Regions from separate parts of the Homo sapiens genome. Here region 2 is linked to region 1. Evidence: promoter capture Hi-C in human tissues and cell types (Jung and others, 2019). All regions are on one chromosome and are shown on one strand. Each heading gives the region's core, a stretch centred on a gene start or on the middle of the fragment in contact. The rest is flanking DNA. Distances are from core to core; before and after follow the strand shown.

The links. Contacts are between HindIII fragments. The study calls those that stand out against the background at their distance.
Region 2: a contact is called between the fragment with the promoter of KRTAP8-1 here and the fragment with the promoter of KRTAP27-1 in region 1, in 4 of the 25 tissues and cell types used here (H1 embryonic stem cells, hippocampus, liver and 1 more).

The regions. Positions count from the first base shown.
Region 1 is chr21:30,336,230-30,338,943 of GRCh38, reverse strand. It overlaps KRTAP27-1 (keratin associated protein 27-1), which reads left to right and starts at 1,250. Exons shown (of 1, transcript NM_001077711.1): 1 at 1,250-1,931. The coding sequence starts at 1,276. The coding sequence ends at 1,899. The HindIII fragment of the contact is 14,979 bases long and covers 1-2,714 here.
Region 2 is chr21:30,811,968-30,814,958 of GRCh38, reverse strand. It overlaps KRTAP8-1 (keratin associated protein 8-1), which reads left to right and starts at 1,685. Exons shown (of 1, transcript NM_175857.4): 1 at 1,685-2,262. The coding sequence starts at 1,739. The coding sequence ends at 1,930. The HindIII fragment of the contact is 6,797 bases long and covers 1-2,991 here.

The sequences.
Region 1 (2,714 bases), core at 1-2,500:
GATCTTTAAACATACAAGTGTGGTTATTCAAAATTATAAATGACTTGCGTGTGTTACAAAGGTATTGTATACAAGATGAGTGTGCAGCCTATAAAGCTGAAAGTATTCAGATGTGCCCTTTTAAATTTATAATATCCTCAGTCTTTCAAGGAAGTGTTTGCATAAGAATTACTGAGAATTGCTGAATGTTCTTGGGCTTCTTCAGACCTTAGAAAGGGAGTCTAGTTAGTGCACTAAGACTATACTTCTATTTTATTGTCATTAGCTGAGCCAAATATATTATAGAATATGTTATAGAAATTGTGCTGGTTGGCTCTGTGCCATGAGTATGAAACTATGCTAAGAACGGTGTCCTAATGCGATAAACATAGGAACTGATCATCTGTCTGCAGTCAATAAAAAAAGCACAGAATAAAGATGAAAAATATCTGAAGAAGGTTCATTATAAAGGAAAATAATCAACCTTTGAGAAGCACAAACACAAGTAAACACACCACTTTGTCAAGTATAGAAAAAAGGAATTAAATCCATTAGTAATTCAGAAAAGGAAGAAATAACTCCTAAATGGGAAGATTGGGGAAGACTTCAGGAAAAGGACGCATTTAAACTTGGCTTTCAAGGAGATTAGGGAAACGAAATGTTAGGCAAAAGACAAGTATTTATTGGGCAATGGCCACACTCAGTACTTTGCATGAACACTGAGAAGGAATGTGATCACAAAGTCCTCTCACATTCTGGTCCACTGGAGAGAACAATATCTGAGTGGAATGAGATTGGGCTCAACCTGGATCCAATTCTAACTTTAAATGTCTTGAACATCAAATTACCACATTCTGCTACATTGGCAGCTCTCAAAACCAGTGCTAAATGTTAATCAGTATTCAGTTGGCCACTGCCTCATGCATTTCTCATTGTCCACTTACCAATGTGCAGAGTCATGGTGGCAAAAAAAAAAAAAAATGTTAGCTTGGTTGGACAGGTTTAGACTCTTATTTGACCAACCCCACCTTGAATGAGTCATCTTTGGAGCTAACATAAAAGCCATTTTGAAGATTCAAAATGGACTTACATCTTTGTTAATAAGACATCATCTGCATATATAACCAAAGTGGTAATGAGATGTTATCCTTCAAATTAGTTTAAGCAATGAGTTGCAAAGAAGTCTTGAGAAGCCAACACCCAGGTTTCTGAGTATATAATCGCCGCACCAAAGAATTTAATTTTCAAACTCAGCATGTTGAGTCCTTATGACCATCTTTAAGGATTTTTAGCAATATGCCTCATAGCCACTGCCATTCACTCAGGAGCTTCCACAATGCCCCACCACTCTCTGCCATCACACATGGCACTAATCCTATAACCTTTGAAGACAGATTGTGTTTGCCCAGCAGCTTCCATAGCAGAACCTGTTTCCTGGACAACTTTCAAGAAACCTGCAATGAAACCACCAGCTGCCAAATGACCAATTGTGAACAGGACTTATTCACAGACGATAGCTGTGTGCAAAGTAACTGCTTCCCCGGAGTTGTCCAAACTACTTACTCCAATTCCAGGCCCTGCGAAAGGACAGCGTGCCAATCAGAAAGTTCTTCAGCAGGGCTGGCTTGTGTTTCTCAGCCTTGCCAATCAGAAAGCACTCAGCAGATGGGTTTTGTAGCCCAGAGCTGCCAACCTGCAAGCCTCAAGGGAAACAGTTGCCCACCCAAGACTTCTAAGTCTAAAAATTTCGAAACTCTGGAACGTGCATCTAGCCAATGTCAGTGTCAGTCTCAGAACCCTGAATCCAGTTCCTGTAGACCTCTGGTCAATGTTGCACCTGAGCCACAACTCCTGGAATCTTCTCCAGGAGTTGAACCAACTTGCTGTGTTACTGGTGGTTCTCAATTGCCTAGTAAGTGAAGATCTGTAGGGGAGATGGCTTATATTCTCATTTGGATGAATTTATTTTTGAGATACTTAGATATTTTGTATTTCTTTAAATAAAAAATGTTGTGTGTGTTTGTTAGTAAATGAACATGTCTTATTTTACTACTGTCTCCAAAGACAAGATTTTTTTTCTTGTTTTTCTTTTGGGTATGTCTAGTGGTAATCTGGGGTTGGAAAGCATGCTAGCTATTTTAGAGCAGTAGGATACGATTTGTTATTAAGCAATAAGAGCTGTAGCCAGGAAATAACATGAATACTTAAAGGAAACATCACACTTTAACTGCAAGTTGTTTTCTTTGGAAATACTTAGCATTGGATCTGGTTTATTAAGTAATGTGCTACTAGTCTCAGAAATTCATAAAATATTGGAACCAAACCTAAAAGCCTACCTAGTCCTGTGAATTACGATAGGTTCAACTCTATCAGAGGTTGCCCAAGTAGTTAATAACATCAGAACCACAACTAAAATCCAGGCCTACTCACTGGCCATCTGTTATTTTAGCCATTGAATCACAACATTCTCAAATTAACTAGAAGATTAAGTCTATTGTTCGAATAGAGCAAGGTAATTTTGAATTTCACCTCCATGGGCTTTATAACCACGTAGCAACCAGAAGCCTTTAAATAGAATGAATTGAAGTTTAGAATCTTCACTTCATTTCGTTCCCGTTGTTTTTTTGGTTGTTTGTTTTTTTCCTGTTTTCATTATTTCTTAAGTATTTTTTGAGTTTGGAAAATATTCTTTGTATTAAATAAATTTGCTTTCTTTGGAAGCAAAATTTGGACTT
Region 2 (2,991 bases), core at 436-2,935, 480 kb before region 1:
AAAATTTAGGCCAGGCGCGGTGGCCCACGCCTGTAATCCCAGCTCTTTGGGAGGCCGAGATGTGCAGATCACTTGAGGTCAGGAGTTCGAGACCAGCCTGGCCAACATGCTGAAACCCTGTCTCTACTAAAAATACAAAAATTAGCCTGGCGCAGTGGCATGCACCTGTAATCCCAGCTACTCGGGAGGCTGAGGCAGGAGACTCGCTTGAACCAAGGAGGTGGAGGTTGCAGTGAGTCCAGATTGCACCACTGCACTCCAGCCTGGGCAATAAAGCAAGACTCTGCCTCAAAAAAAAATTATATATATATCTATATTTAAAAAAAATGCCTCTGCTGTAATTAGTCTACTGCTGGCTAGAACACTGGCATGGTTTTGAATTTTCCAAGTGTCTCATCTTGTTCTTGGATTCAGCCTTTGATTCCTAGCTGCTGATAGCAGGGAGCAAAGTTACCTCTGGGTTATGAAGTAAAATCTGGGAGAGCTCATGTGTAATACATATCTGTTTTGTGGCCTTCTAGAATGATTCCTATTATCTCTGTGCCTATTTCTGTTCCATATGCCCTCTTTGGTATTTGTTCTGTAAGTTCTCTACTAAGTGCCACTGTAAGAAATCTTAATGCAGGTGTCTGAGAATAATATATCAGGTCTTACATGATCCAAGATAGTTTTGATCAGCCTTATCCCTCCTTTAACTCATGCTTGAGAACTGACTCTCTGTTTAGAAAGGAATAACATTCCTTCTTTATCCTGGGGTGCATGATCATTGTAAAAGTGAAATAACTGATTTCATGTTGTCATCTGGCCCTTTATAATATCATCACATTTGTCAGACAATCTAGTTTCATTAGATCTAAGAGAAAAAAAATTTTAAATCTTACAATAAATTTTTTAATTCATTTTTCTGTGTTTACCTTATTAGTTTCAATGTTTAGTTTGAAATATGTTTCAGGCCAAAAAATTAAATTTGTTTGACAATTCAGTACAAGGATTAATCCAAATACTCCGTTTTAAAATCTCAATACTATTAATTCAAGTAGTCTTCTAGAAATGTGATGTTAGGTATAGTTTAGGAGGGGACTATGATTAAGATTACACTTTTAACCAGTTTCCCAAACACGGTAGCTGTAGTAGAGGAAAAAAAAAAGACTCTTTCTCATGAGTTCCATTGCACTTGTCTTTCATATTCCAAAAAAGAGAATCCTTGAAGCAGGTGAATACTAAGACATACTTTAATTTTGAGAATTTTGAGATAGACTCACTATCCATTTGTTATTTTATATATTAATGTATTTAACACATATTTATTGAATTTCAACTGTGTGTTGTGGAAATTCAGAGAGCAAGAGGACTGCATAACAGCTAACAACCTCAGAATATTTCTTGATATTATATACCTGCTTACAGAGTTATATGGGGTCTATAAGACAGAGTGCTTTGAAGTCCTGGCAATAATTTTTTTTTTTTTAGGAAGGGAAATAATTTGTTTAAAGGCATCTTCTCCCTGTATTGCATCACACGAGAGCTTTCTTAAGCCACTGTAAAGACATCATAAGCAAGAGCAAAACAAGTTAATGAGCTTTTTAGAATGTAAATTGGTGTCAAGAATGAAAATGAGGGCTTTGTGTTTTTCACCACCCACCAGAGCTGGGATATATAAAGAAGGTTCTGAGACTAGGAATCCATCCCACTGAGGAAACGCACTCTGTTGCTACCTAAGCCCTCCACTCCCGACACCATGCTCTGCGACAACTTCCCCGGGGCTGTCTTCCCAGGATGCTACTGGGGCAGCTATGGCTACCCGCTGGGATATAGCGTTGGCTGTGGCTATGGCAGCACCTACTCTCCAGTGGGCTATGGCTTCGGCTATGGCTACAACGGCTGTGGGGCTTTCGGCTACAGGAGATACTCGCCATTTGCTCTCTACTGATTGGCTGAAATCCCCGAGGTGTAGCATCTTCTCTCCCTTGAAGGCTGAGCCCCACATCTCCAGGTTCCCCCCGTATCCACTCCTTCAGTCCTCATTTGCTCATCAACCTCAGAGACACTGCTTTCCAACTTACCTCGAGTCCCAGGGGAGGAAAATGAAAAAGCAGACGCTTCCTCAAGCTGCCTCCCCTGGCTGATGTTCTCTGGGACATTTTCGGAAATTTGACCTCCCACTTGTCATGAGCTACTTTTGAATTTTCCATGACACTCATGACTTGTGATGAAGTCATGGATATGTCTATCAAAATCTCAATAAATTTGTCTCAGCTGGTATAATATTCTCATGCTAGAGCGAAGTTTCCTTTCTTGGTGTGTGCATATTTTCTGTTACATGGGTGGTGGGGGGGAAGTGAATTTATTTTTCTCATGTGGGCATTAGGAACAGCCAGAAAGCAAAGAATTACTGATCCTGTGTGATAAGCAGGTAAGAGGGTGGGTTGCAGGTAATGACTTAAAAGGTTGCCTGTTTGAACCTTCTTTAAATTTTATGATGCCCACCTCCAACCCAATGGAGCACCATTTATTGCTCGGGGTCCCCTTCTCATCTCACTACTTCTGCTCCTCCGCAAGAAAACCCAACACAGGAGGAACTTTTTCAGTCACTTCCATGTTAGTCCAAATGAAATCCACTGTGTTCCCTTTCCCAGGGACTAAGGATTATAGACTAAAGTGCCATGCCCCCTAATGAAGGATGCTGGAGCATTGAGTAATAGAGAAGCCACAGACATCCTTTGGAAATCTGAGAGTTTTTAAGGTGAAGGGATAAATCCCCTATATCAAACCATCTAAGGTGTCTATTTTGTAGCTTTGAAGCACCTGGGTTATTCACAACCATGACAAGTTTCTTAATCTTTATAGAATCAACACCAGATAGCGAGTTTCACTTAAAAGATATGAGCTGTAATGAATATTTCTGAAGATGTATCAGCTTTTCTCTGTGTTCCTTTAGGGAAGGGAGCAATTTCCTTTTATAAGCCAGATAAAAAAAGTCTCAATCCTTCT